2 separate regions of the Homo sapiens genome follow, and region 2 is linked to region 1. The links are contacts of gene promoters, found by promoter capture Hi-C in human tissues and cell types (Jung and others, 2019). All regions are on one chromosome and are shown on one strand. The core of a region is centred on a gene start or on the middle of the fragment in contact, and the rest is flanking DNA. Distances in the headings are between cores, read along the strand shown. Region 1 holds the start of UBE2G2 (ubiquitin conjugating enzyme E2 G2). Region 2 overlaps TSPEAR (thrombospondin type laminin G domain and EAR repeats).

Region 1 (5,155 bases), core at 2,091-4,590:
CTCAAACCCTGCGGCTGCTTTATCAACTAAATTTATGGAATAGTCTCAATCTTTTGTCATTTCAACAATGTTCACAGCATTTTCACCAGGAGTAGATTCCATCTCAAGAATCACTTCTTTGCTCATCTGTAAGACTCAACTCCCCATCTGTTCAAGTTTGATCATGAGATTGTAGCAACTGAGTGACATCTTCAGGCTCCACCTCTAATTCCAGTTCCCTTGCCATTTCTACCACACCTGCAGTTGCTTCCTCCCCTTAAAGTCATCCATGAGCATTGAAATCAACTTTTTCAAACGCCTGTTGTTGATATGGTGACCTCCCATGAATCACAGATGTTCTTAATGCCATCTAGAATGATAAATCCTTTCCAGAAGACTTTTGATTTTCTTTGCCCAGATCCATCAAAGAAATCACTTTTCATGGCAGCTATGGCCTTATGAAATGTATTTCTTAAATAAGTCAAAAGTGCTCCCGGATCCATGGGCTGCAGAATTGGTGTTGTGTTAGCAGGCACAAAAACATTTATCTCCTTATACCTCTCCATCAGAGCTCTTGAGTGACCAGGTGCACTGTCAGGAATAGTATTTTGAAGATAATCTTTTTTTCTGAGCAGTAGGTCTCAACAGTGGGCTTATATTCAGTAAACCATGCTGTACACAGATGTGCTGTCATCCAGGTTGTTTTTCCATCTCTAGAGCTCAGAGTAGATTTAGCATAATTTTTAAGGGCCCTAAGATTTTCTGAATGATAAATGAGAACTGGCTTCAACTCAGTCAACTTAAAGTGACCGACATTAGCCCCTAACAAGAGTCGCCCTGTCCTTTGAAGCCAGTCATTGACTTCTCTCTAGCTGTTTACGTTGTATATGGCATCATCTCCTCCCAATACCGTATAAGGCTATTTTACGTACCTTGTAAATCTATTGCTTAATTTAGGAGCCACTTTCATCTTGATCTTAGCTAGATCTTCTGGAGACCTTGCTGCTTCACCTTGTGCTTTTCTGTTATGGAGACAGGTTATTTACTTCAATCTCATGAACCAACCTCTGTTAGCTCCCAATTTTTCTTCTGCAGCTTCCTCACTGCTCTCAGCCTTCATAAAACTGAAGAGTTAGGACCTTGCTCTGGATTAGGCTTTGGCTTAAAGGAATGTTATGGCTGGTTTGATCTTCTATCCAAACCACTAAAACTTTCTCCATATCAGCAGTAAGGCTTTTTCACTTTATCATTCATTGTGTTCAACAGAGCAGCACTTCTAATTTCCTTTAAGAACTTTTCCTTTGCATTCACAACTTGGCTAACAAGAGACCCAGCTTTCAGCCTATCTTGACTTTCAACATTCCTTCCTCACTAAACTTAATCATTTCTAGCTTTTGATTTGAAGTGGGTAGAGTGCAACTCTTCACTTCAACACTTGAGCCCACTGTACAGTTACTATTGGCCTAATTTCAATGTTGTTTTGTCTCAGGGAAGAGAGAGGCCGGGAGAGAGATGGGGAAACAGCCAGTCAGTGAAGCACACACAACATTTATTAGGACTACCATCTTTTATGGGCATAGTTTGTGATGCCCCAAAATAATTACAATAGTAACATCAAAGATTACTGATCATAGATCACAGTAATAGATTAAAATGTAAGAGAGAGACACGAAGCGAGCAAAAATGGTGCCAACAGACTTGCTTCCATGCAGGGTTGCTTGTAAAAAACTTGTAAACTTGTAAAAAATGCAAGATCTGCGAAGTGAAGCTCAATAAAGCAAAGCGCGCGGGAAACTGAGGTGTGCCTTTATGTTCTGCTTTAGCAGACACTAGGTGGCGAGCGTTATTTGAACGTTTACAGGAGGCCCTGTGTATCTGCGGCTGCATATCCATGGATTCGACCAACCAGGAATACAAAATATTTGAAAAAAATAACAATAAAAAATGACGATTTAAAAATACAAGTAAAAAAAATCAGTGTAACTATTTGTGCAGCACTTACATTGCATTAGGTACTATAAGTAACCTTGAGATGATTTAAAAGTTATGAGAGGCTATGCATACATTAAATGCAAATACCACGCCACCTTATAGTAGGGACTTGAGCATCCGAGGATTCTGGTATCTGCAGCGGGGCCTGGAACCAATCCCCTCCAGATACCAAGGGAAGAATGACCATACGTGAGTGAGCCTGTATTTGCAACGTTTTGGTCTGCTTAAGCCAAACATCAACTCTTACTGGGCGGTGTCACCAATAGTTTTACGAAATCAAGCTACATGTATATTCACCACTTATTTTTTTTCTCACATTCATTCTTTTAGCTTAACTTTCTTCCAAAATTATCCTCAATCTAATTACAAAAGCAGCAGCTAACTTTATTAAGGGTTACACATCAGGTATTTTGCTAAGCACTTCACCTGCAGTATCAAGTTTAACCTTTTAAGACAAGGAAACTGCAGAGACAGAGAGAGGAACAAGGTCAAAGAGCTAACAAGCAGAGAGGCCGGGTCTGAACTCAGGCCCTGCTCTTAGCCGGCTACTATCTCGTCTCCATCGGCGACTCAGGCTCCTGGCGCTTTCAACACAATGGTATTCCAAGACTTCTCGCAGCAGTTCTTCCAAGCGGGCATTCGGTGTAAAACGATGGAATGCCGAGTGTTCCTAGGTTCTCATTTCTCCCTTCGCTCTCCTCAGACATTAGAAATATCTAATTTACCGGGTAGGAAAGCACTCAAGAGGTTTCCTCAACACTACCTAGGAGGAGTGACAGGTGGCACTGTTCAAAAACCCTTTTCCTTCATTAGAGGGAAAGCCAAAATCTGACCTTTCAAAGCTCCACCAACGAGCCTTTCCCCTTTTAACGCATACACTTTTCCCTCCTAATTCCGCAGCAGCAAGTCAGGCCTTCTTCCTCAAGCTCTCACTGCACGTTCTCAAGGCTGCCAAGAAAAGAAAAAATAGAAGAGAAAAAAACAAGCCCGCAAAGACTCAACTGTGTGTGCTCTCAACTAACACGGCGCCGGCGCTGCCTTTACTGATGCTGGGAAGGCTTCTCTTCACGACTTCACGCGTGAGAGTGGGCAGCGGGCGCAGGGCGCGGCACTCCGCGGGACCCACAGGGGGGCTCACGGTGGAGGCCCCGGGCCCGGCTCCCCCGCCAGGCTCCCTGCCCCAGCCCCGCCGGACGACGCGGGCCCGGGAGCAGGAACGCGGGACGCTGCTGACGGCCCGGGTCCCCAGACTCACGTTTGTACTCGGCCATCAGCCTCTTGAGCGCGGTCCCCGCCATGGCCCCGCAACAGCTGCGCCGAGCGACCTCGCCTCAGCCGCGCGCGTGCCTCCTGCCCCGACACCGGGGACTGCTTCCGGGCCACCGTCGCGGGCCCAGGAACTCTTCCGGGGCGTGGCGCGTGCGCGATCGCCGAGGCGCGCTGTCCGGGTGGTGGGAGCTCAACCCGCGACCGCGGCTACGATTCTCTTGGCTCCTGCCCTCGCCTTAGTCGCTCTGCGGGGTTGGTTCGGTCCCGGCACTTCCAGAGGCCTCAGGGTCCTGGTCTTGTAGAGACTTCCTGAACGGTGGCGCCTGTTCCAGTGTGTGTGCGCTAACTGCCTGTTCTGTGCCAGCCGCGCGTGGCCGAAGGGCGGGAGGACGGGGGTTGTGGAGGGGAGGATGGAGGTTGGGGAGACAGGGCGGGGACGAGATAAGAGGTCGGGGGGTGGGGAGGATGGTCGCGGGGCGGTCTGGGGCTGGAGACAAGGGGCCTGAGGTGCGGGTACGCACTGAACATTCCAACCGTCCCCAGCCGGCCGGGTTTCAGGTTTGAAAAGGTGGGAAGGTTAGCTGTCCTGGCGCTTTTCCTCCACGTGTTGTGCGGCTCCGCTGGAGTTCGGGTCCAGCACCTTCTACTCCGAGGGAGAGAGCCGCGGGGAGAGCCCTGTTCGGGCCCGCGGCTCGAACTGACCGCCGGCTCTGCCGAGCAGCCTCGACCCCAGGGCACCCCCGGGAGAGAGGGCGCGGCTCAGGTCCCTGCCCGAACCCCTGGGGTGCTGAGAGACTCCCCAGCGCCCCGCGTGGGCTCCCGGCCTCTCCACAGTTGAGGATCCTGTAAGGGGCGAGCCCTTTTTCCCATAATGGCTGTAGTGAGTGGGTGTGCTTTCCCGATTGACCCGCTGTGAGGTGAGCGATTTTAACCCACATCCTTACTGACTTCACAGCACAGTAGGTGCTTCGTGGCTGTCCGGTGCAAGGATGTATATACACACACACCTTTGCAAAAAAAGTTTGCATCTCTTGCCTGGCTGTTTGTTGCAATAATCTATCATTTGTCTTTTCCTTTCCAGCATTGCAGATGATCCCTTGAAAAGAAGTCTGATCACATTCACACTCTGCTCCGCCCATTTCACTCAGTAAAGCTGAAGTCCTGCAGTGCTTTGCTCTGCCTCCGGTCACCCCGCCATACTCCCAGACCCTCCCTCCCTCTCACTCCACTCCAGCTGCCCTGGCCTGGTTCAGAGTCCCTGACTCTTCCCTCCCCGGAAACACTTTCTGGCGGCTCTTGTCCCCGACTCTTCCCACCTGCTCTTTCAGTCTTTGCTCAAATGTTGCCTCTTCAGTGTGGCCTAGGCCGTCACCACCCGGCCTTCACCGCATACCTTTTTCTCTGCAACACCTACTCAACACACCGTACTATAGAACTTACTGGCATGCTATAAATGTATTACCCTTATCTGTTGCCTCTAACCAAAAGCGTGTTCCATGAGAGCCATGGGTCCCTGCCTACTTCTGTCTTGTTTCTGGGGCAGCCTCTGTACCTGGACATCGTATACTCTTAACACGGATTTGTCAAATCAAATGAAATTTAACAATACAAACTTCACAAGTATGCATAGTGTAGGAAAATTCCCCAAAATTCAAAATTTCAGTCTACCTCCATCTTTTCAAATGACCACAGTGCTTTATAAAATGACATGGTCCTTTGAGACTGTTTCAGAGAGTAATTTGTGCAAATGCAATGTGCAAAAAGTCACAGTGGAGGTGTTTCCTCCCCCATTCAAGAGCTGCTCTCTCTCTAATCAGACAGCACCCCACACCCCAAGGCAGTCTGTCCAGTGCTCCTAAAGGAGAGCAGCTCCCCTTTTCCAGTTATGGGAGATGTGGGCAATAAAGCATTACTG
Region 2 (4,692 bases), core at 909-3,408, 270 kb before region 1:
GGCCCCTGCAGGCACCTTGGCACAAGCCTGCCACATCACAGACGGGGAATTGAGAACCTGGCCTACCGGTGACGAAGGACATCATGATGCCCCCTATATGGTCAGCCCACCCTCTGTCCACTCTGAAAGGCGTGGCTTTCCATCCCATTGAGGCAGAAAAGGCCTGCTCCTCTGAGAGTCCTCAGCGATTGCACAGGGCATGGTCCCCCCTCAGGAGGGAGTCCCTGTTGACAGTGGTGTATCTTAACGACGGCTTGGCTTGAACCTGTGGCGGTTTGATCTCATCACTTCCAGTAATCACACCCCACCATGGGTCCTAATTCTGCCACCTCTTGACTCTATGTGGGACATCTGTGCACCTGCCAGCCGGTGCTGGCCAGCGGTGTGACACAGTATACCATGCGGCCCGGATGTGTTGGAGGTGGGGGCTCCCCTACTTGGTAACCGCTAACCCTGAGGCTCGGGGGCTCGGCTGTTCTCCACCTCACTGCCCCTCGGGTTGGCTGAGAGCAGTGGGGATGCGGCGGGGAGGGGCATTTCAGATTCTCCATGGCAGGAGTGTGGTTTAAATAAATACAGTCACCCTTGTAACTTCACACAAGAGAAAATCAAGCGGGGAGGCCCTCTGGGCCGGGGGATCGTGGAAGACGTGAGTGTAGGGCCAGAGTGGGCCCGACTGGGGCGGGCTGGTCTGGATGATGGTGGGACAGAGGCGGGGTGGGGAGAAATGGCCCAAACGCTGTCCTTGGGGGGCAAAAGGGGATGAGGGATGTCAGATAGCTCTGGACAGACTTTCTAAAGTAAGTTAGGCCTGTTTTCTGCCTGGGGTCCCCAGGAAGGGGCTGGATGGCTGTCGTGGGAGTGCTTGGAGGGAAGGGCAGGATGACACTGGCCTGTCTGATGGTGCCGCCTGCCTTCCTAGGGGTGGGCCCCGAGTATCCCCCTGGCCAATATGACCGCTGCCCCCCGTAGCAGTGATGAGGGGGGCAGGCACACGAGAGGGGCTGAGAGCTGAGCCCTGAGTTCCCGCCTGGTGTGAGGCCAGGGCTCTCGCATCTGCCTTTGGTGTGGGGGCGGGTGGCCCCCCTACTAACCATAGGGATATTTTAGCACCTCGTTATCTTCTGGCTTCCCCGTGAGAGCCTGCAGGACCCGTGGGATGGACAGCACCGCCAGCGGGGCGTTCCTGCTGGGACACAGCCTTGGGGTGGCGTCTGAGCCCGGCAGCAGGACCAGTTGCCTCACCAGTCCCTGCAGAGAGAGGGACAGCTCCTTCAGGCCCGCGCTGCTGGGGAAGGACCCGCTGAGGAGGCGACCACTGAGCTTGGCCCATCCAGAGCCCGGAGGAGGCTCGGGTGGATGGAATCTAAGCTTTTGCAGAGCTAACTGGGAAGAGTTTACATGATGGTTACTGAGGAGGCCATGGGAGCAATGGTGAAGAATTGCCCCCCTTCCGAGGGAACTGAACCACAGAAGGGGTTTTTTATGTGAACTTAGAGTGACTGGCTACTCTGCTCATCCAACAGCCCATCCACCCATCCTGTTCATCCATGCATTCATCCATCCATCTGTCCATCCATCAGTCCAATCCATTCATCCATCACTAATCCATCCATCCCTCCACCTACCCATCCATTCATCCATGCATTCATCCATCCATCCACCCATTCATCCATCACTCATCCATCCATCCCTCCATCCACCCATCCATTCATCCATCCATTCATCTTTCTCTCCATCTGTTCATCTCTCCACGCATCCATCCCTCCATCCATCCATTCATCTTTCTCTCCATCTGTTCATCTCTCCACGCATCCATCCATCCATCCATCCATTTGTCCATCCCTCCATCTGCCCATCCATCTGTCAAACCATGCATCAATAAATATTCAGAGCATCTGCTATGTGCCAGGCATGGCTCTAGACACTGGACTCAGCAGGGAACAAAGGCCTCTAGCCTCATGGAGTGAGGTCCCCACTCACACGTGAGTGGAGACACAGGCACCGAGCAGACACCCAGCTGGCCTGAGAGCAGCAGGCCCTACTGAGGAAAGACAGCTCCGGGGAAGGGGCTGCAGGGCAGAGTGTGGGCATCAGCTCAGCATGGTGGGGGCAGCCTGAAGAGGACCGTTGGGCAGGGACCCAAGACCATCAGGGAGGAGGGTGCCAGGAGGAAACAGCAAGCGTGAAGGCCCTGTGGTAGAGACTCCACGCACGCTGTACCTTCTTTTCCCAGTTAGCACGTCCAAGGATCTGTCAACTAGAGCAGTAGGACAACTGGCCTGGGGCAGTCCCATCCCGCAGCACGGGTGTTGGGAAGGCAGCCCCTCCATACTCGCCATGAACAGGCCTTTGGCTCTCCTCCGGCTGCCGACGAAGAATCGAGCTCCTTTCACTGACAGGGTGGCTGGGAAGGGCACATCGGCCATTCTGAAAATATCAAAGGACTGTGTTAGGGCCATAGGAGAGTGGTCACCCCAGTTTACTCACAGAAGGAACAGGAACAAGCCCCTCACTAAGCAGCGTGCATCTGTGCTGTGGCTGCCACACAAAGGATGGCACACAGGGCTGATCGCCTGCACAGCTCTGGAGCCCAGTAGCCTGGATCAGGCTGGGGCAGGGTTTCTCCGAAGGCTCCAGAGGAGGACGCTTCCTCGACTCATCAGCTTCTGGTGGCTGCACGTGCTCCCCGTGACCTGTGGCCATGTCGCTCCAGTGTCCGACTCTCCCAGTATCTGTCTCCTGGTAAGGATCCTAGTCACACTGGAGCAGGGCCCGCCTCACTCCAGGATGATCTCAGCTTGACTTGATGACTGCAAAGACTCTGTTTCCAGGTAAGGTCACATTCACGGGTGCTGGGTGGACATGAATTCGGGGGGGGCACTTCACCCCAGGGCCAGGGCCTCCTGCAGAAGTGCGTGGTGACATGCTTAGTGGTTCTTCCCTATCTCATGGTGAACGTGCAGTGGCTTCGACCTGCACAGGGTCCTCCAGCCCACTCACCCTCCCTCCACTGAGCTCCTGCACCATCACCCGGCCTGGGGTGCTGGGACAGATGGCTTCAGGACAGGAAGGAGGCTGGTGACCCATGAGGGTGTCAGGAGCAGGCGGTCTTGACGAGTGCGTGGAGGCTGAACTCCGGAGATGGAGCAAGGTGGGTGCCCGCTGAGGGACAGCGTGGCTAGAGCTCCTGGGCGGAAGAGCAGGGGTGCCTTCGGGCTCGCCTCCCGCCCACGCTGCCACTGTCTCTTGTAAAACACCTGCTCCTTCCAGTCTTTGCCATCTGGCTGCAGCTGGCCGTGGTGAGCTCAGCTCCTGCCCTGCTGTCCCAGAAAGCCCCGTCCTCTGCACACAGCTCGGCCTCTGCTAGGGTCCAGGCTGCTGGCCCCCAAGCCCTGGCCTGTACCCTCCGTAGCAGCCTGCCAAGGGGTTAAGTTCTTCCGTGGCCACAATTGGTTCCAGGCCTGTGACTCCCCATGTCCCACCATCTTCCCCAGGAAGTCCACTTTTAAAACATTCGGGGAACATTCCTAATCATTATGCTTTCGACCCTGATTTCTTCCTTTCTCCTGATGAGGCAGGTGAACGTTTGTCCAGGCCTCAGGCGCTGCCGCCACGTCATTCCTAGCTGCTGTGGCAAAGCCAGAAGTCAGGCAGCATTCACGTCCAGCCAGGACTTTCTTTACGGGGTGGGAAGCTGCTGCTAGGTCAGGTTGTCTTCAGCCTGCACAGCACGTCCCTGGGAGGCTTCCAGCTCTCAGGACCTGAGAACTCATCACCGTCCTGAGGGCCCTAAAGAGTTTGGGGTATGGTGGGAGAGAGGCTCTGATAAAAGTGTGTTTAAGCTAAGTGCATAATAAAAATATTTATGCGATAAGTTTCATAACAAAACAGAAGATCCTACCTTTGAAAGTAATATTCGAAATAATTTAATATTTAATAGATTTAATATAAACTGGATCATTTGCAATTAAAAAGACAGAAGCGCAGCCCTGCTCCACAGTGGTAGATCCTGACATGGGTAACCAACTGGCCGAGCTAGGGGACTGAGGACTCCTGTCCAGGGGACCTACCGTCAGGCCACAAACCAGGCGACGGCAAAAACGAGAAACGAACTCGGCTTCCAAAAGCCCCCATTGTGTCCAAGGCTACAAAGGATAATCTTGTACTCATTTGGAGTTTCTGTCAACATCTGCTCCCTCGTCCACGAGGAACCTGCCATGTGGAGTCACGGAGCCAGGCCTCGGCCTCCAGCCTGGAGGTTGGGGAAGGAGTTACTCTGACTTCCCGCTGCTGCCTGTTGTGATGTTAGCGCCCTCCCCACAGTGCCGGTCCCCTGCCAAGTCCCCTGAGCTACTTCTGGAAAAGGAGTGCGCTTGGTGTGATCGCCCTTACCTTGTTCTAAGCCACTGACTCTGATGTGCAGCGGGTTTTGTGTTTAAGGCGTGGAGAAACATTAAAATCGGGGTTTTGACAGGAGTGTGCTTCATAAACGCTCCGCGGGAGAGGCCCATTCCCCTTCCAGCCCGAATCCAGGGCATCACTCACCACCTGTTCTCGCCAATGTCCACTCTGCCCACAGATGGTGAGCCTGCCTCACCCCATGCAGCCCTGCAGAGGCTGGCGCGGACGCTGACCTGACCTCCCATGGTCAGCCCCTGCCTCATGAATGGCTCTTGCCCCCTGGTCGGC

The links. The method cuts DNA at HindIII sites, captures the fragments that hold promoters and counts their contacts. A contact is called where the count stands out against the background at its distance.
Region 2: a fragment that was not itself captured here is called in contact with the fragment with the promoter of UBE2G2 in region 1 in 1 of the 25 tissues and cell types used here (mesendoderm cells).

What each region holds. Positions count from the first base shown.
Region 1 is chr21:44,798,480-44,803,634 of GRCh38, forward strand. It overlaps UBE2G2 (ubiquitin conjugating enzyme E2 G2), which reads right to left and starts at 3,341. Exons shown (of 6, transcript NM_003343.6): 1 at 3,227-3,341. The coding sequence starts at 3,269. It overlaps LINC01424 (long intergenic non-protein coding RNA 1424), which reads left to right and starts at 3,762. Exons shown (of 2, transcript NR_109928.1): 1 at 3,762-4,157. RefSeq lists an enhancer at 2,567-3,522 and silencers at 3,070-3,129, 3,190-3,409, 3,910-3,959. The HindIII fragment of the contact is 9,913 bases long and covers 1-5,155 here.
Region 2 is chr21:44,528,704-44,533,395 of GRCh38, forward strand. TSPEAR (thrombospondin type laminin G domain and EAR repeats) reads right to left here. Exons shown (of 12, transcript NM_144991.3): 4 at 2,340-2,430; 5 at 1,095-1,251. It overlaps LOC124905038 (a long non-coding RNA gene), which reads left to right. Exons shown (of 2, transcript XR_007067905.1): 1 at 1-2,834; 2 at 3,582-4,479. Among named protein-coding and RNA genes, the nearest start is that of KRTAP10-1, 9.1 kb to the right of the region's middle. The HindIII fragment of the contact is 5,517 bases long and covers 1-4,692 here.